Linked DNA regions of Homo sapiens: regions 1, 2, 4, 5, 6 and 7 are each linked to region 3. Evidence: promoter capture Hi-C in 16 types of primary human blood cells and fetal thymus (Javierre and others, 2016). All regions are on one chromosome and are shown on one strand. The core of a region is centred on a gene start or on the middle of the fragment in contact, and the rest is flanking DNA. Distances in the headings are between cores, read along the strand shown.

Region 1 (2,700 bases), core at 77-2,576, 580 kb before region 3:
AGAATGACAACCAGATGTGTCTTGGAAAGATTACTCTGGCAGCAATCAAAAGTTGGAGACTGTTAGTTAAATTGTAAGTATTTTCTAGAAAAATAAAATTGCTAGCAGGTACAGGTAGCGACCAGTACAGGTAGTGACCAAAAACTTGAGGTATCTCTCTATCACCACTTAGCTAGGCCAACAACTATCTGTAGCTCCAAGAAATCTGTATTTATAAAAAGACCTCTAATAACACAGGGCACAATCATCAAATGGCTAGAATCTAATGGTTAATCCAAACACAAAACAAATCTCGCCCACCTATCCTAAGAGGGCGACTTTGCATCCTCTGCAAATATATACGGTAGCACAGGAAACTCACAGCCATGCCACCCCCTGTCAAGGGTGTAAACAATCCTGACAGCTGGGGGGCGGGCTGGCAGCGCCATTTCTTCCACCACCCCAGACAGTCCCAAGTTCTGAAGAAACTGGGCATTGAACCACCCTTATCAGCAACCGGTGTTTATTTCTGGAACAGATGCTAGTAATGTGGGAAACCCAAGGTGTCCAGGAGAAAAGATAGTCACCGGTATGGCATCACCGGAAGTCAGTACCAAAACATAAAATCCAACATCGAACCGTAAGGAGCAATGCTGACAGCAAAACAATTCTCACGCACTGAAGTCCGAAAGTGAGCCCGGACAGCGATTCTGGCGCTGGGGAAGTCGCGCCAGGGGAGTAAGGGGTTGCCTATCTTCTCCTCTCGCTCACCCACCTGCCCACCCCGGCGCCAGACTCCGCAGGCCCCGGACCCAGCAGAGAAGAGCGCCTGGCCGGGACAGGGGCTTTTACACAGCAGCAGGGACTGACCCCAACCGGGCGGGCACCTGCGGGGCCAGCGGGGGTCCGCGGAGCGCGGCGGTGCGGCACGAGGGCCACTACCTCCTTCTCTTGCAAGTGGGCCTCACCGAGGCCTGGGAGAGAGATATCTCGTCGCTTCTCATACCTGGGCCCAGGACAGGAGGAAGACTCAGGGCGAGGCCCTTTCCGCCCCCGTCTCGCCCCGGTCCCCGGTGGCTCCGCAGGATGAGGGCGGCCCTGGCGTCACCTTCTGGTGTCGCGGAAGCTCGGGTCCTGTCAGCGGCCCCGACCCCCTTTCCCCCTGCCTCACCGCCTCCTCTCCCCATGCCCCCACCCCTGCCATGCGTGTCGTCCCATTACTTGATTAGATCCCGATAGTCCAAAAAGGATAAGATGAGGAGCAGGGGATCGGTGGGCAGCGACTCTAGGGTCAGCGGCGCCGTCTCGGTCTCCATGGCCGCCATCTTGCCTGGCCCGGTGCAGGTCTGGCCCCGCCCTGGCCCCGCCCCTGCCCCGCCCCCACCAGCGCCCGAACCGCCCCCAGCCGCTCTCACAGGTTTGTTATGTAACCGCCGGGCCAGCCCCGCCCTCAGGGTGGGCTGAGGTGCGGCTCCCTGGAGACCCCGCCCGCTAGCCGGGAGCCAGCGGCGCAGTGCGAGTTCAGCCCGCTTTCTTCGCGCTCCGCGTCAAATCTCTCCAGCTCTGTTCTCGCATCCCGGTTCGTAAACTTGCCCAGCCCGGGACCCTTTTGTTGCCAAATCTGCCTCGGTCTGCCCAACTCCTCCTGCGAAATTTTACACTCAGTATGCAGGAAGCCTCGCTCAAAATCTGACACTCCTCCACGCCCTTGGTCCCCAAATCCATTCCTTCTCTTTGTTTTCCAACCCGAGAACCCCTCGTTTTCCCCGCTCAGCCTTCCCCACCCCGCTTGTCCCCCGCACACAGCAGGGCCGCTCCGAGACTTGTCCACTCAGCAAGAGCAGAGCTGAGAATCAGCCAGGGACGCCAGCTGAAGGCCCTTCTCCCAAATTAAGGAAATAATTGTTGAGGGCTTAACTTCACGCCCCTCCCCGCCTTCCTAAGTAAAATGTGTACAAGGAGTGAGTCTGAGTCTCAGCCGCTGTCCCTTAATTTGGTTATCATGGCTATTTTCAGCCTATTAGGGCAATGCAAAGGGTACAGTGTGGATTTTTTCCAGCTTTAAAATTTATTTTGGCCAGGGTTTAGATCCCGCAGAGTTAAGTATCCCGCGTGTGAAGGGATGAACTGAGACTCCCAGAGGGCATAACTGATGGAGGCACGAAGATGTCTGCTCTTCAGCTTTGCCAAGGTGATATTAAAATGAGAGTGGGGGAAGTATAATGGGTCCATACATCACTTGCCTGATTTCTTCTTTTCCATTGCTTTTCCAAAGGTAGTATGGTGTAAGGGGCTTTGGGGAATCCAGACAGACCTGGACTTCACACGCCCGTCATTTATTTCACTACTAGTGAAATGCTGGCGTAGTTACGCCTAAGTTCTCTGAGACTGTCCCTCATCTCTAAAACCACCCCTCCTCTGGTGAACTAAGGATGGCGATAACGCTTTATGTAAAGTGCCTGGCCAGATACTCAATAAATGTTAATTTTCCAAGCTTATACATGCATCAGTCACTAAGTTCTCCAAACATTTCCATATCCTGGAGAAAGTTTCTCTCAATTATTTGGAAGAGTGGAAGTGATATGCCCCGCCCCAAAAAAATCCATTTCCTCCATTCTTCATACCATTAATGCCTTCTATTTATGGTTTTGCTTAATAGTTATAACCCCTGCCACCCAGCCAACAAAACAGAACAACAGCAACAAAAAACTCTGCCTACAT
Region 2 (2,700 bases), core at 145-2,644, 660 kb before region 3:
GCCAAAACAAGTGATGGGAAAGACAAAGTCTGCAGGACAACCTACCGCTACTGAAAGTTCTACTTTGCAATAGGTCCTTCTTGGAGTACAAGGCATTTAACAACTTTACCCTCCAACAGGGAGGAGTCATTCAGCTCGTAGGCTGAGGGATCCTGCCCGCATCAGCACACGTGGTCCAGAGCCCTAAGACTTCAGACGTAAGACCAGATATCAGCCCAGGATCCTGGTGAGAGAACTACCGGCGCCAAGGCCACAGAGTCCCAGGGGGGCTGCCCCCCAGCATTGAGAAGTGGAGTGTCCCAAAGCTGCCCTGGAAACGGCCTTGGGCCTTGTGGTTCTTGCACAACTCCCACCTCCCCCTACAGACAACTGACAGTCACCTTACTTCACCTTCCCCCCATGGAGAGCCCCGGTTTAGGACCGAACATTAAAGCTTAGGGACTGTCTGTGGTGGGTGGAGCTCCAGAGTACAGGGTAGGAGGATGACTGTGCAGGAGGATTAAAGTTCAGGACGGGGTGGTGGCGGATGGAGTTCCAGGTGTGGAGGCTCAGAGTCCAGATGACCCAAAGGGTTTAGGACGGAGGGAGGATGGAGTTTGGGACTAAGAGGCTCATGAAGTTCAGATCTGTGGTGGGGGGAGGAGTCGGTTAAGTCCAGGATAAGGGAGTCTGGGTGCTAGGGGATAGATTTTGGATCTGGGACTACTGGGGGCTGGAGTCAAACCAGGCTACATTTCGGGTCGGGGCACGGAGCCAAGGAGGGAGCTAGGGCAGGCTAAGGCTGGGCTCGGTGGCCCTGGCGAGGTCACGCACAGCTCTGGGAGTCGAAGCCGTCCCCAGTGATGGTGAGCAACTCCAGCTCCTTAATCCGGATCTCCAGCTCGCAGAGCTCCTCCGGGTGGGAGGCAGAGGCGAGCCTGGGGGTCGAGGGGCAGGGGACCAGGGGCGAGGCAACCACCTCAGGCCCCGGCGGCGGTGAGTAGAAGAAGCGCAGAGGCTCGTAGGGGATGGAGGCCAGGCCGGAGGGCCAGGGCGAGGGCCAGGGGCGCTCGCTGGAGGGACCCAGGCCGGGTGGTGGCGGGGGCGGGGGCGCCGGGGCGGGGAGCGCCTGGGACAGGGACCGGGCCCCCGCCGCCCCGCCCACTGGCGCCCCGCCCGCCTTCAGCGGCACGAAGAGCTTCTTCCAGATGTTGAAGTCGCTGAGCGGGGACGAGGAGATGCCGCGGTCGTACAGGGACGGGAAATAGAGGGGCGGAGCCGACCGCTGGCTCATGGTGGGGCTGTGGCTGCCGCGCCGCCCCTTTGGCATCGTTTGAATGAGGGTCTGCGTGGGAGGAACCCCGCGCCGGGAGACGCGCGCTCAGGCCCCGAGTCGCCGGGGTTTCGAGGTTCCACAAGCCCCGCCCCGATGGAGCGCGGCCCCACCCTTTCGCCTCAGCCCGGCCCCTAACAGGCGGGGTTCCAAAGCCCGGACGACCACGTCCCGGAACGCGGCCCCGCCCACCTCGGCTGGCCGCACCCCGCAGTTAGAAAGCCACGCCCCCTGGCTCGCCTCGCCTCGCCTCCCGTCCCTCGACTCCGCCCACCGCCTCGCTCTTGCTCTGCGACCCCGCTGGCTTCCGTTGTCATATCCCAGCATACCCTCATCCAGAACAGGCAGCGGGCCAGGGCTGCAGAAGAAAGCTTACTTCAGGCTTCCTCTCTTTCTCCCATGAGGGAGAAAAGTATTTCCTAGAAACCTGGCCCCTGCACCAGCAGACTTACCTCATTGCCTCACTGGCCGCGCCCACAGCAAAGAAGTCTGAGAAAATCAGTGTCTGATTTTTCATCCACTACTGTGGGAGGCAGACAAAGGAGAAGAGGATTGATTGGGAATGGCTGTTAGAGCCAACCTATGTATCTGCCAAACGTTAGCAGTGTTGAGGAAGATTCTAGAAAAGGGGATCCTCATCTGGTTTGTAATAGACCTGAAGGAGTGTTTTCAGTGAAATGCAGTTTAGTTCTCTTCCAAACACAGATATCACCAGGAGCTAACAGGCAACGAGCTAACCACCAAAAGGAAATCCTGTCCGCCCTACCTCAAATACTTCACCCATTGCTTATGAGCGATTTGGACATTTTGTCCAAAGGACATGACAGCTCATTTATGTGAGTAACCTGTATTAGCCATAGACTGAGGGGAAATAACTAATACATTTTCTTGAGAGCCTCTGCCTAATGATCACTGGTATGACTAGTGATGGGTGGAGGGCAGTTAAAGAGTCAGTATCAGCTTCACAAGTTAAATATATATATGCATATGTATCTGCACACACAGTGCAAAGTGTGTGTGTGTGTGTGTGTGTGTGTGTAGCAGCAAAGTGGAGAGAGTCAGATATTCAAGCTGGGTAGCCTTGGACAAGTTGCTTGACTTTTAAGTAGGTTTTCCATAAAATAGAAATAAGAAAACCAGGCTGCCTCATAGGGTTGTGATCAAACAGAAGACGGAACAGTGTGTGTGTGAAACACTTGAACTTGGACACTTTGTCCAAACACAAGAGGCAGCTGTCCCTACTAAGGGGCATGTCTGAAACTGGGAAGCTTTTTCTTCCCACACTGAGCTTCCCACACTTAGTTGTCACACGCAGTATTTGCTCTCTGACTTTGGCAGCCACCCATCATTGTTTATTCATACAAGTGATCACTAGGCTGAGGCTCTCA
Region 3 (2,700 bases), core at 182-2,681:
AACGTTTTCTCCCAAAGAACTGGCACAGCCACCAGCTTTGTCTCAGGAAATTCACTCCCCCAGTAGCCCAGGGCGGGATTTCTTGCCTACCCAGTCTGCCAGTCCGAGGCCCGCGCGCTTACCATTGGCGTTCTTGCCGCAGATGAGATGCTCATAGGGCTGCAAGACGCCCCAGAGCTCGGCGTCGTTGTTGATGACCATCTCCAGGGCCTCAGCAGACACCTCCCCGCCTCCGGCCCCTCCGCCATCAGGGCTGTGGCTGGCCATCACCCTGGCCCGGATCTCCTCCACCAGGTTCTCCATGCAGGCGGTGAGGGAGATGGCTGCGTACTCGTGGATGCGCACGGAGATTCGGGTGTCCACCATCCAGCGGAAAAAGCGACCCACTGAGAAGGTGAGGCCGCAGCGCGCGGACTTGCCCCGGCGCAGCCCGTCGCCGGCGCTCATGCTGTACAGGGACAGCGCCTTGACGGCTGCCAGCGCGCAGCTCTCGGCCAGCGCCCAGCTGTGCACCAGGCGCACGGCGCTCTGCACCTCAAAGCGGGTGCACTTGGCGTGCAGCACGCTCAGGCGCTGCGCCTCGCGGGCCACGCGGATCAGTGCCCTGCGGAGCAGCCCGGCCAGGCGCCTCACCGCCTCGGCGGAGAACTGGGGCAGCCGCCGGCCGCCAGCGCCTTTGCGGAGCACCCGGGCCACGTCTCCTTCGGTCCAGGGGAACTCCTCCAGCTCGGGGAGCCGCGGACAGCGCGAGAAGAGGTCGGCCACTTCGGGGTCCTCGGGCAGCACCGTGTTCACCGTGTCCCAGCTGTTGTGGCGGCTGTTCATGGAGCCGGAGTAGCACCACCAGGCCGCCCCGCGGTGCTGCTGCGCCGAAGAGTTGAGCGCCTGCGAGTTGGACTTGGAGGACGAGAGGCTGAGCGAGCGGCACGAGTCCCCGGCCCCATACCCGGAGTCCAAGGTCAAGTCCTCCAGCGTCTTCAGAGTCGAGCTGTACGTCCCGGCCATGGGGAGCCTGCCGAGGGCGGCGTCGCCGAGCGAGGGGCACTCACAACTCCATGCCCTCTTTCCCAAGTGGGCAGAAACAAGCTCTAGGCCCTCCGGGCCACCCTCCTTCCTCTCTGCGTCGCGGGGCTCGGCGGCCGCATTGCCTGCCCGGAGGCCGCGGGAAGGTGGCCGAGATCCGTGGCCAGCAGGAGCCCCACGCTCCCGGCGTCCCGACTCGCAGCTGCCACTGGAAAGAACCCCGTCGCTACCCCCCGGCACTCCCCCTTGTCCACCTCTAATTCCCACAAGCAGAGAGTCAGTCCTCCACAGAGAAGGAATCCCGGGAGAACAGGGCGGCGGCGGCAGAAGGAGGAGGCGGCGGCGCAGGGCGCAGGGCGCAGCGCGAGTCCGGGACCAGCCGGCGAGAAAGCGCTCTGCAAACTTCTGCGCTGCGCCGGCCGGCAGCACAGCTGGGTACCCGGCTGCGTCCGACATGCAAATAACCCCGGGCGGCTTACCAATCACCGGCCGCGATGGGCGGGGCTGCACCAATGATCTCCGAGGGGGCGGTCACTATGCAGATTTCACTCTGCCTCGGGTTAAACCCCGCGGCGAAGGAGGCGGGGCTGGAGGCCGAGGGTCGGGCACGCGGCTGGGATGGGGGTGGGGATGGGGGGGGATGGGGGGGATGGGGGGGTGGGGGAAGGGCGAGCCAGCCAACTGGGAGGTGGAGGTGGAGACCGGAAAGCAGCGGTCGAAACGATAGCTCCGGAGCTCACGATTTAAAGAAAAATGCAAAGGAAAAGCTACAGGGCGCTGCCACCTTCCCGCCACCCAGGCTTTGGGCGTTCGCTGCTCGCTTTCGAGCCCTCCGCAGCCAGGCGTCCTGGGGTTGGGGCCAGGAGAATGGGGAGGGCCCCATCCAGGCGCTCCACCTCTCCTCCACCTTCCGCCAGGCCCCTCCCGCAATCCGAGATGAAACGCTGGCTGTGTTTGGAGGGAGGAGGGAGTCCCTGCCTCTCTTTCCAAGTCCGTCTGGTTCCTTTGCGCTGCCGTCTAGGCTCCAATAAGGACAGAATTTCTTAACCTGGTATCTGATCAATGGACGGGCCCCAGGAAGCCTGTGAGTGCCTCCGCCCATTTGTGGTTTCACCTGCAGTTTTCTGAGTGCCACTATGGGGAAGGGGCACCAACTTTTGTCAGATTCTCAAGAGGATCCGTGACTTCCCTGTTACCTCTGTGTGACGATACCACTTGCTGTCAGGTGGGTCCTTTTTGTCCGAGATAGACAGTGTTCTTACAGGAAGAATGAGAAGAAGGTGGCAGAGCAGTCCCTCGCCCTGGGCTGAGCTCGGAACACCTAGCTGGATGCAGGTGTTCGCCTCCTAACGCGTGCCGGTGGGCGAGCCGTATGCCCCCGCGGGACCCAGTTCCTCCGGGGTACAATGAGTGGCTGACCTCCAGGCAGCGCCAGTGCCAACCTGCCTCCGGGCGGGTGTCCCAAACGGTCCGCCAGAGCGCTGTTGGTTCAGCAGTCCCATGCCCGGTGCAGGCATGTCCCGCCGCTGCCCTGTGGCTACTCACACGCACGTGCGCAAACGGACCTGTGCCCCCTCCAGTGGAACCGCAGGCTCAAGGCGGGGATTGTGCATTCGCTCTCCCCAAGTCAGCCTCCCCCACTCCTGAATGGCTCCTTTGTGTTGCATTTTACACAGT
Region 4 (2,700 bases), core at 164-2,663, 530 kb before region 3:
CCCCAGATGTGCCCAGTCTCAGATTCGAGTCTGTCCTAGCCATAGAACACCAGTTCCCTCAAGGAGAGAGGTGGAGTCAAGATCAGGACCAACAGGACATCAGAGTTCAGGGCTGTCTGATGAATTCAAGGAGATTCTTATTTAATCCATTTTCCATAGGAAACATCGACTCCTGGAAGAAGTTGGTGTGGGCTGCCTGGGAAAGGAGGTTTAGCATCATATGTGGGCTGGTGGTGGTGTGCTCTGGCTAACTTAACATCAAGGGATAGGGAGGTTCTGTCCTCAGACCCAACTGAGTTCCCATCATCCCCCACACCATGCCACCCATCAGTGAGTACAACCTGTAGGGATGCCCTGGAGGCCAAACTTCCCCTAAGTGCTGGGCTTTCAGCTTCTCTTCCCAGAACATCAGACTGACTTAGCTTTGGAATAACTTGGAATTGCAGACTGAGCATTCTGAGAATTCTGGTGATGTTGCAGGGTAACCTGAAATGGGCTGCCCTCCAGTGGGGTTATTGGGCAGAGTAAGGGTCAGGATGGAAGTCTGCCACTTTAGCTGAGGCCAATTTATTATTCATTTATTTATTTATTTAGAGACAAATTCTCGCTCTGTCACCCAGGCTGGAGTGCAGTGGTGCGATCTCAGGTCACTGCAACTTCCACCCACCAGGCTCAAGTGTTCTCATACCTCAGTCTCCCGAGTGGCTGGGACTACAGGCATGCACCACCACGCCTGGCTAATTTTTGTATTTTTAGTAGAGACAGTGTTTTGCCATGTTGGACAGGCTGGTCATGAACTCCTGGCCTCAAATGATCCACCAGCCTCAGCCTCCCAATGTGCTGGGCTTACAGGCATGAGCCACCGCACCCAGCCAAGAAATTTAAGTACATTTTCCTTCTATTTATATTTTGTAAGGGGCAGAACCAGGATTTGGACCCAGGTGTCTAACTCTGGAAGCTAAAAGCTTTCCATTATAACAAGTTGCCTCACCTGAGCCCGACTTAAAATCAGGTGATCTCAGCTATACTGGACTCCAACAGGAGTCATTGCTATTTTCTTGCTGTTGTATTTTATTCAAGTTTAGAAAAAGAAATAGCCAAAAAGCTCAGGCAAGGAGCAGACAAGACACAAAGAACTCTGAGTTCTGCCTGGGGAAGGAGCAGGGGACATGAGTCACCTTCCCCTCTAGACACAGTACTGCAATAGGATAATCCTCTCCCAACTTCCAAATAGAAGTGGCCAAATTTAGTGGCAGGAGGAGCTAGGGGCAATGTGATTGCGACTCCCACCTCTATCCAGAGAACTGGCCCTAAAGCATCTCACCTGCTGTTTCACCGAGAGGCTCGTGGTCTCCAGCATCACCCAAGAGCTTCTTAGTAATACAGAATCTTAGGCCCCACACCCAACCCACTGAATCAGAATGTGCATTTTAACAAGATCCCCAGGTGATCCTCATGTACATTACAGTTGGAGAAGTGCCTAGAACTTGACCCTTCACCTCGTTATAACTCAGTAACTTCACTTGTGAATCAGGCACAATAGCACCTGCTTGACTCACCACTCCTGGCTGTATGAGGATCAGAGAGGACAATGTAGGAAGTTAGAGGCAGAGGTGTTCAGGAAGTTATCTCTCGTGCCCCCTCTACCTTCTCCACTGCCATGGAAGCCTAATCTCTCTCTCAGAGGGAGAAGACTAGCAGGTGGCTCTTCTCTGGAAGAGCAGAGGAAATCAGGGACCCTCAACAGCCCATCCTCCATGGCCCCTGGGGGAATCTCTGAAGATTCTAGCTTTTCAACTGAAAGTTAGGCTGTAATTGACACTGTGTAATCCAGTAGACGGAATTTTGCAGAAATAAATATGAAGCTTATATTTGGGTTTTTAAAAAATCAAATTAGGCTGGGTGCTGTGGCTCACGCCTATAATCCCAGCCCTTTGGGAGGCCGAGGCAGGTGGATCACCTGAGGTCAGGAGTTTGAAACCAGCCTGGCGAACGTGGAAAAACCCCATCTTTACTAAAAATACAAAAATTAGCCAGGCATAGTGGTGCATACCTGTAATCCCAACTACTCAGGAGGCTGAGACAGGAGAATCTCTTGAACTTGGGAGGCAGAGGGTGCAGTGAGCAGAGATCGCACCACTGCACTCCCGCCTGGGTGACAGGGCAAGACTCTGTCTCAAAAAAAAAAAAATCAAATTATATAACAAATTATTCATGTGTGTATATATATATATATAGATATTAGGTTGGTACAAAAGTAATTGCGGTTTTTGCATTGTTAGAATTTTCCGTTTGATATTGGAATAAAACATAAGGCAAGAAAAGATAAAATTAAGAACATAATTCTTATTTACATTTAAGAATGTAAATAAATGTGGTTACCGTATACATCATTTTAATGGGCATTTCTCGCTTTATGTTTTTTTGCTAGTTTATTTTATGTTTATTTTAGACTATGGAAATGATGTTAGACAAAAAGCAAATTCGAGTGATTTTCTTATTTGAGTTCAAAATGGGTTGTAAGGCAGCGGAGACAGCTCGCAACATCAGCAGTGCGTTTGGCCCAGGAACTGCTAACAAACATACAGTGCGGTGGTGGTGCAAGAAGTTTTGCAAAGGAGACAAGAGCCTTGAAGGTGAGGAATGTAGTGGCCAGCCGTCGGAAGCTGACAATGACTAATTGAGAGCCATCACTGAAGC
Region 5 (2,700 bases), core at 114-2,613, 560 kb before region 3:
ACAAAATCAGGAAGCAGTGTGCTGGAAACACATGATGGATCCATCTCCAAAGCACCTCCTCTTCCTGTTCTACCATGCTGCCTCCTTGAAGGAAACAAGGTGAAGCTGTCCTAGGAGAGACCTATTCTCCTCAGGGAAAGGCAACAGCAAATTTGATTTGTGTAACAAAAATATATTCCATACATAGAAATTGACAAACTGAATTTAAAATTTAGTCAAAAAGGCAAAGGACCTAGAATAGCCAAAACAATCTTCAGAAAGAAAAAGTCTGGAGGTCTTAACTTCAGGACTTAATAAAAGCTGCAGTCAGACTGGACGCGGTGGCTCATGGCTGCAATCCCAGCACTTTGGGAGGCCAAGGCAGGTGGATCACTTGAGGTCAGGAGTTTGAGACTAGCCTGGCCAACATGGTAAAACCCTGTCTCTATTAAAAATACCTAAAGTTAGCCGGACGTGGTGGCAGGTACCTGTAGTTCCAGCTACTTGGGAGGCTGAGGCAGGAGAATCGCTTTATGTAGGCATAAACCTGGGAGGCAGAGGTTGCAGCGGGCCAAGATTGCACCACTACACTCCAGCCTGGGTAACAGAGTGAGACTCCATCTCAAAAAAAAAAAAAAAAAAAAAAAAAAGCTGCAATTATCAAGACAGTGTGGTATTAGTGAAATAAATGACAGATCCATGAAACAGAATGAAGAAACCTGAAATAGAATCACATGTATATGGTGAGAGTCCCAAAACCTTTTTGTATATACAGTACAGTAGAGAGAAGAAAGCTTTCTTAGGGTGCTTTAACCAACTCTATTGAGGTATAATTTATATACAATATTATGCTTTCAGTTCAATGAGTTTTGACAGGTGTATAAGCCTGTGTAACCATTATCACAATGTTCTACATTTTCAATACCCTCAGAGAATTCCTTTGTGCCTCTTTGCTGCCAGTTCCTCCCCAAGCCTCAGCCCCAAGCAACTGCTGATCTGCGGTCACTATAGATGAGTTATGCCTTTTCTAGAATGTCCTATGCCTGGACTCATACAATAGATAGTCTTTTGTGTCTAACATATTTATGATGAAATATTGGAAACATTCCCTTTGAGACTGGGAATGAGACAGGAATGTCCACTATCACTGCTTAAATTCAACATTGTACTAAATAGTCAGTGAAGTAAGGCAAGAAAATAAAATATATGGTAAAAGATATTGGAAAGAAGAAATAAAACTGTATAATTTGCAGATTATATCATTATGTGTTTTGAAAACCCAAAAGAATCTACATAAAAATGTTAGTTACTATGAGTGCATCTTCAGTTTCCTGAATATAAAATCAATATATTAAATTATATTTCTAGGCCAGGCACAGTGGCTCATGCCTGTAATCCTAGCACTTTGGGAGCCCAAGGTAGGCAGATTGCCTGAGCTCAGGAGTTCAAGATCAGCCTAGACAACATGGTGAAACCCCATCTCTACTAAAAATACAAATAAATTAGCTGGGCATGGTGGTGCATGCCTGTAGTCCCAGCTACTCAGAGCTGAGGCACAAGAATCATTTGAACCCGGGAGGCAGCAGAGGCTGCAGTGAGCCAAGATTGTGCCACTGCACTCCAGCCTGGGAAACAGAGTGAGACTCTGTCTCAAAAAGAAAAAAATATATATTTCTATACATAAACCACACAATTAGAAAGCTGAAATTTAAAAAGGTAACATTTACAATAGCAATGAAAAATAGAACCTGGAAAGAAATCTAACAAAACTTATGCAAGAATTATTGGAAAAAATTATAAAACCAATAAAAGGCATTTTAAAATACCTAAATAAATGAAGAGCTATAACTTTTTAACTTACTACAAATAAATTGATTTAAAAACTCCATATCATAGAAATATAAATGATCACAAATTGATCTGAACATCCAACAATAAAAATACAAATCTCAATGGATATTTTGGTAAAATTTGGCAAGCTTATTTAAATATTTGGATGAAAAAGCACTAGTCCAAAAAAACGCCAAAATACTCTTGATGAAAATGAATATGATGGGGAGAATTGCCCTACCAGATATAAATCTATAACAATTAATTCAGGGCAGTATTGTCGTAGAGATAGAAAAAAATACACTAATGCGTTAGAATAGACAGCTCAGAAAAGCAATAGGAATATATGGACAATGTAATATATGGTGAAGGTGCTATAACAGATCAGTGAAGGAAAGTTTGAATTTTTTCAGTAAATGGCTCTGAGATCACATGAATAAAGAAAAATCAGAGGCTAGAGGAATTTTAAAAAGATACAGGACTTGTATAAAACAAACAGCAAAATGGCAGGCATAAATCCTACTGTATCCATAACTGGATTAAATATAAATGGATTAAACATTCCAATTAAAAGGCAGAGATTGGCAGAAAGGACTAAAAAACAAACAAACATGATCCAACCATATTATGACTAAAGAGAACACTTTAGAACCAAACAAACAAATAGGTTGAAAGTAAAAGAATGGAAAGCTATACTAAGGAAAAATAACCGAAAGAGAGCTGGAGTGATTGTATTAATAACAGACAAAATGGATTTTAAGGCAAAAATTGTTCTAGAGACAAATACAATTTATAACAATTAAGGATTAATCCATTAAAAAGATAGAAATATTATAAACATGTATGCACCTAACAGCCTTAAAACCTATGAAGCAAAAACTGATAGAACTG
Region 6 (2,700 bases), core at 85-2,584, 540 kb before region 3:
CACTTTATGCGACTACTTACAGTTAATATGCCTTGATAACTGAGATTTGAGATTTGAACTGTATTTTTGGGTCACCCTCGTGTTATTTATTTAACCCATGGTGACTGAAATTTGTACATATTGGAACAATGCAAATTGAAGACTGTATGTATGTATGTATGTGTATTTATATATAACATATGTATATATTATTTAGATATATTATGTATATAATTATGTACTGTGTATACATACACACACTAAATATATATATACACATATATACATATATACACATATACATACACATATATACATATATACACATATATACGTATATATATATATCACATATATATATCTCACACACAAATACATCATGGTCAACTAGAATTAATTCCAGGAATCCAAGGTTGGCTTAATATTCAAAAATCAATCAATGTAATTCATTATACTTTTTTAAAAAAGAAAAACCATATAATAATCTAAATATATACAGAAAAATATTTGACAAAATTTAATACCCATTGATGATAAAAAAAAAATCTCAGCAGACTTGGAATTTAAGGGAACTTCCTCAGCCTTTGCCTTATCAGGGGCATGTATGAAAAACCTACAGCATCATACTTAATGGTATGATATACTATATTTAGATATACTATATATTATATATATAAAATTTACTGGATACATATATATACACACTAAATATACATATATACATAACACTGAATACTGAGTACTTTCTGAATACTGAATAACTGAATACCTTCTCCTTACTAATGGAAACAAGTGGAGGATGTCTGGTCTCACTAGTTTCATTTAACATTGTGTTGGAGGTCTCAGCAAGTGCAAAATGGCATATAGATAGGAAAAGAAGGAAACAAATTTTATTGGCTCATGACATGGTCATATTTATAGAAAATCATAAGGAATCTTTTTTAAAATCTCCTGGACTATTAAGTAAATTTAGCTAAGTCACAAAACACAAGATCACTATACAAAAATTGGTAATACTTTTATATACCAGCAATGAATAATTGAAAATGAAAAAAAAATTTTTTTGAGATGGAGTCTCGCTCTGTCACCCAGGCTGGAGTGCAATGGCACCATCTCGGCTCACTGCAACTTCTGCCTCCCGGGTTCAAGCAATTCTCCTGCCTCAGCCTCCCGAGTAGCTGGGATTACAGGCGCCTGCCATCATGCCTGGCTAATTTTTGTATTTTTGTAGAGACAAGGTTTCATTATATTGGCAAGGCTGCTCTTGAACTCCTGACCTCAGGTGATCCACCTGCCTCTGCCTCTCAAAGTGCTGGGATTACAGGCATAAGCCACCACGCCTGGCCTGAAAATGAAATTTTTAAATGCCATTTATAACAGCACCCAAAACTATGAAATATATTCAGTGAAATTTTAATGAAATATGTGCAAACATGTACACCAAAAACTATAACATAATGTTGAAGGAAAATGGAGATATATACTGGATTTATGAATCGGAAAATTCAATATCATTAAATGGCATTTCTTCCCCAATTGAGTTATGTATTCTGTGCAAACCTAGCAGGCTTGTTTTCTTTTAGAAGTTGGCAAGCTGAAATTTATATAAAATATGACCTTTGTGCCATAGAATAGCTCAAACAATTTTGGAAAAGAACAAAAAGCTGAAGGATATAATTTATTGAAAGACTTAATATAAACATGGAGCAATCACATAATTATTGTAGATATAAGTAGAGAAATGTAAACTAATACAACAATAAAGCATCTAGAATTAGATCCACTTATGTATGGTCAATTTATTTTTTTCAGTTAAGGTGCCAACAGGGGAAATGGTGTTTTCAACCGATAGTGTGGTAAAAATGGGATATCAATTTGGGGGGAAAATTGAATCTCAACTCTTATCTCACGTCATACAGAAAAGTTGACTTAAAATGGGTCATAGAACTAAATATAAGGCTAAGGTTATCAAACTTCTAGAAGAAAATATAGGAGAAAATATTGTAGCCTTTGGATAGGCAAATGTTTCTTGTATAAGAATAAGAAGCATGAACCATACAAAAAAAAAGTTGAGAAGTTAGACTTCATTTAAATCAAACATTTCTCTTCTCCCAACACTCCATTAAGAAAATGAAATGGCAAGTTATGGCCTGGGAGAAAATATTTGCAATATGTACATCTGCATAGGGCTTGTACCTAGAATTTATAAAGTACTCATCCAACTCAGTAAGAAGACAAACCACCCAATACAAAAATGGGCATGATAAGAAGAATTTTAAGCTCTTGAAGCAGAAGAGAAGCTCTCCTGTTGGCCTGGAAACGAGCCACCATGAGTTCTATAGCGGCAGAGAAATGAATTCTGCAGACAACCACCTGTGCTTGGAAGAAGACCTGAGTCTCAGATCACACTGTAGCCCAGGCTGACACCTTGATTGCAGCCTTGTGAGACTTGGAGCGGAAGAGCCAGCTGAGCCACGGCTTGCCTATGGAAACTGAGAGACAGTAAGTGGACTTTAGTTTTTGGTTTAGGCTGACAAATGTGTGGTGATATGTAGAAAACTATAACAATACAATAAGCAAAAGATATGCATATACTTCATAAAACAAGATATATGGATAGCCAATAAACACAAGAGGTTCAACATCAGTCACCAGAGAAATGCAAATTAAAACCAAAATGAAAATACCTCCACACACAAACACAAAATAGAAGGGCTAACG
Region 7 (2,700 bases), core at 172-2,671, 540 kb after region 3:
AATTGAATACTATTTATCCTTTCTGCTTCAATTTAAGTCCAGTACATCTTGTTTTGTCCTCTGAGGAATACAGATTAGCAGGCACTATATTCATTAATGATACAGGTGCTTAGAAAGCATACTGCCGTTCTTTTGATTCAATAAAAAATAATTATTAGGATTTTTAATGATTAGTCATCTGTATTTAAGTGACTTTGAAATATGTATCTGGGAGGTCAAGGCAGGTGGGTTGCTTGAGCCTAGGAGTTTGAGACCAGCCCATGCAACTTAGTGAGACCCAGTCTCTACAAAAAAAAAAAAAAAAAAAACCCCAGAAAAAATTAGCCAGGCGTGGTCGCACATGCCTGTAGTCCCAGCTGCCCAGGAGGATGAGGTAGGAGGATTGTTTAAGCCTGGGAAGTCAAGGCTGCAGTGAGCCATGATCGCCCCACTGCACTCCAGCCTGGGTGACAGAGCAAGACTCTGTTTCAAAAACCAAAGTACCTGAACCTTTGAAACAAATCCTATCTACCTAGAGAGGATCCTCTAGAATCTCAGGTATATGAACATACTTGGTAGCATGTTATTTAACTCTGGTACTCAAAAACTGAGTATTAAGTTATTGTGATTTGAAATTGTGGATCTTCAGTCTTTAGCTATTTGACATATCTGCAGCTTTTGTACATTGCTTCCATTCAGTTACACAAATGTCCACTTGTCCATTTAGAAACTAAAGACCTTCAGTATCACATAAAACTGATCATCAGTTGTTCTTTGGATATAACACATTAGACTTGCTGTGGTCTACTCAAATGGAGAGTTCCCAGTAATAAAGGCTGCCAGAAACTTACCCATGCTTCAAGCTAATTCCTCCTCCAGTCCCAGTGACCCAGCCTAAATGGTAAAACTGTTTGCAAAGTTCTGGGATCAGGTATCTTGGATGCTCCTTGTCCTTAAAAAGAAGGTAATGATTTTTAAAACAGACATCATTTTATCAAGTAACTATTCCAGCTGGTGTTTCTAATAAGAAGCCAATTTAAGAAAGTTTAAGAAAACATACTATAGAAAGAGTACAGTGAAGGAAAAAACTATTACAAACATATTTTGTTTTTAATGTTTAGAAAGTGGATCTACTACATTATTTGGCAACCTGGGAGTATTCGGTATAGGGCCATATAGTCCAACACTAAGGAACAGGCTGCAAAAACAAGGTGGGGAAATGCCTAGTATACATTACAAAGCATCAACTGAAATGGCTGAAAGAAAATAGAATCTCATGCTGAAGGAACAGTCTCTCCAGAAGATTTATTTACACAAAACACCTTATTTAACTAGGTTTGATGATATATACATGAGATATTATGATAGTTACATGTTCAACACATACTCTGTGTGTTGGTTCAATTGTATTTTTATTCCAAAAAAGTCCTTTTTCCCACAATGATTTTAGTTTCTCTTATTGAAAAAGCAATATATACTCATTATAGAAAATAAAGTGAAGCAAATTACAAAAAACACTAAGAAACAACCTCAATTAATACTTGCTTAACCCATTTTATGAAGATACGTGTTTATGAGTGTATGTGTGTGTATACAGACAGATAAATATCAAGTGTTATTTTTATAAGTCCAATGATTACTTCTTTAGAAAAAAGAGCCCACACCATTTTCTCCTGCTTTTTTGTGGTTTAAATTAATGAAAACAAAAATAAATAAATAAATAAATAAATGAAGAAGAAATACAATGAATTCCATTTTGGGCAGTATAATATACAATCCTTATCTTAAAAATAAGTACAAATGCTGAATAAATTATTTTTTAAAATATTTCAAAATAAGTTGTTGAGCTGGCAAGAAAGTAAAGTTTCACAGGGGCCATAAAAAATGAGAATGAGACTCTCACACCAGTTGGAATGGCGATCATTAAAAAGTCAGGAAACAATAGATGCTGGAGAGGATGTGGAGAAATAGGAATGCTTTTACACTGTTGGTGGGAGTGTAAATTAGTTCAACCATTGTGGAAGACAGTGTGGCGATTCCTCAAGGATCTAGAACCAGAAATACCATTTGACCTAGCAATCCCATTACTGGGATTCTACTATAAAGACACATACGTATGTTTACTGCAGCACTATTTACAATAGCAAAGACTTGGAACCAACCCAAATACCCATCAATGATAGAATGGATAAAGAAAATGTGACACATATACACAATGGAATACTATGCAGCCATAAAAAAGGATGAGCTCACGTCCTTTGCAGGGACATGGATGAAGCTGGAAACCATCATTCTCAGCAAACTAACACAGGAGCAGAAAACCAAACACTGCATGTTCTCACTCATAAATGGGATTTGAACAATGAGAACACATGGACACAGGGAGGGGAAAATCACACACCAGGGCCTGTCAGCAGATGGGGGGCTAGAGAAGGGATAGCATTAGGAGAAATACCTAACATAGATGATGAGTTGAGGGGTGCAGCAAACCACCATGGCACGTGTATACCTAAGTAACAAACCTGTAAGTTCTGCACACGTATCCCAGAACTTAAAAGCATAATAAAGCAACAACAACAACAACAAAGGAAAATGAGACTACCTGGGAGAGAAGTGAGCGCCAAAGCCAGAATGTTCCTGAAGGTATTGCAAAACTCTGGTGACCTTGAACTTCAATTTTGATAGCCATGTAAGCCACTAGAAGCATGAGACAAAACCCAG

Evidence for each region. The method cuts DNA at HindIII sites, captures the fragments that hold promoters and counts their contacts. A CHiCAGO score of 5 or more calls a contact.
Region 1: a contact is called between the fragment with the promoter of FBXO3 here and the fragment with the promoter of ABTB2 in region 3, in 8 of 17 cell types (neutrophils, total CD8 T cells, naive CD8 T cells and 5 more). The highest score is 7.1, in neutrophils.
Region 2: the fragment with the promoter of C11orf91 here is called in contact with the fragment with the promoter of ABTB2 in region 3 in 8 of 17 cell types (total CD8 T cells, fetal thymus, total CD4 T cells and 5 more); the score reaches 9.6 in total CD8 T cells.
Region 4: a contact is called between a fragment that was not itself captured here and the fragment with the promoter of ABTB2 in region 3, in 11 of 17 cell types (M0 macrophages, megakaryocytes, naive B cells and 8 more). The highest score is 10.3, in M0 macrophages.
Region 5: a contact is called between a fragment that was not itself captured here and the fragment with the promoter of ABTB2 in region 3, in 4 of 17 cell types (erythroblasts, naive B cells, megakaryocytes and 1 more). The highest score is 7.9, in erythroblasts.
Region 6: a fragment that was not itself captured here is called in contact with the fragment with the promoter of ABTB2 in region 3 in 4 of 17 cell types (neutrophils, naive B cells, naive CD4 T cells and 1 more); the score reaches 6.7 in neutrophils.
Region 7: a fragment that was not itself captured here is called in contact with the fragment with the promoter of ABTB2 in region 3 in 1 of 17 cell types (M2 macrophages); the score reaches 5.8 in M2 macrophages.

Annotation. Positions count from the first base shown.
Region 1 is chr11:33,773,194-33,775,893 of GRCh38, forward strand. FBXO3 (F-box protein 3) reads right to left here and starts at 1,327. Exons shown (of 11, transcript NM_012175.4): 1 at 1,201-1,327. The coding sequence starts at 1,304. FBXO3-DT (FBXO3 divergent transcript) reads left to right here and starts at 1,506. Exons shown (of 3, transcript NR_120550.1): 1 at 1,506-1,558; 2 at 2,061-2,170; 3 at 2,255-2,477. RefSeq lists an enhancer at 341-841 and silencers at 790-859, 1,320-1,419. The HindIII fragment of the contact is 5,455 bases long and covers 1-2,471 here.
Region 2 is chr11:33,699,432-33,702,131 of GRCh38, forward strand. It overlaps C11orf91 (chromosome 11 open reading frame 91), which reads right to left and starts at 1,395. Exons shown (of 2, transcript NM_001166692.2): 1 at 814-1,395. The coding sequence starts at 1,309. RefSeq lists silencers at 1,061-1,150, 1,331-1,570. The HindIII fragment of the contact is 1,250 bases long and covers 432-1,681 here.
Region 3 is chr11:34,356,579-34,359,278 of GRCh38, forward strand. It overlaps ABTB2 (ankyrin repeat and BTB domain containing 2), which reads right to left and starts at 1,432. Exons shown (of 17, transcript NM_145804.3): 1 at 123-1,432. The coding sequence starts at 1,005. RefSeq lists an enhancer at 358-467 and a silencer at 1,418-1,617. The HindIII fragment of the contact is 9,392 bases long and covers 1-2,700 here.
Region 4 is chr11:33,829,927-33,832,626 of GRCh38, forward strand. No RefSeq gene overlaps it. Among named protein-coding and RNA genes, the nearest start is that of LINC02721, 8.9 kb to the left of the region's middle. The HindIII fragment of the contact is 900 bases long and covers 964-1,863 here.
Region 5 is chr11:33,792,725-33,795,424 of GRCh38, forward strand. No RefSeq gene overlaps it. Among named protein-coding and RNA genes, the nearest start is that of LINC02722, 11 kb to the right of the region's middle. The HindIII fragment of the contact is 1,185 bases long and covers 772-1,956 here.
Region 6 is chr11:33,812,497-33,815,196 of GRCh38, forward strand. It overlaps LINC02721 (long intergenic non-protein coding RNA 2721), which reads right to left. Exons shown (of 3, transcript NR_183773.1): 3 at 1,645-2,471. Among named protein-coding and RNA genes, the nearest start is that of LINC02721, 8.5 kb to the right of the region's middle. The HindIII fragment of the contact is 4,873 bases long and covers 1-2,700 here.
Region 7 is chr11:34,894,180-34,896,879 of GRCh38, forward strand. It overlaps APIP (APAF1 interacting protein), which reads right to left. Exons shown (of 7, transcript NM_015957.4): 2 at 831-931. Among named protein-coding and RNA genes, the nearest start is that of APIP, 21 kb to the right of the region's middle. The HindIII fragment of the contact is 4,090 bases long and covers 1-2,700 here.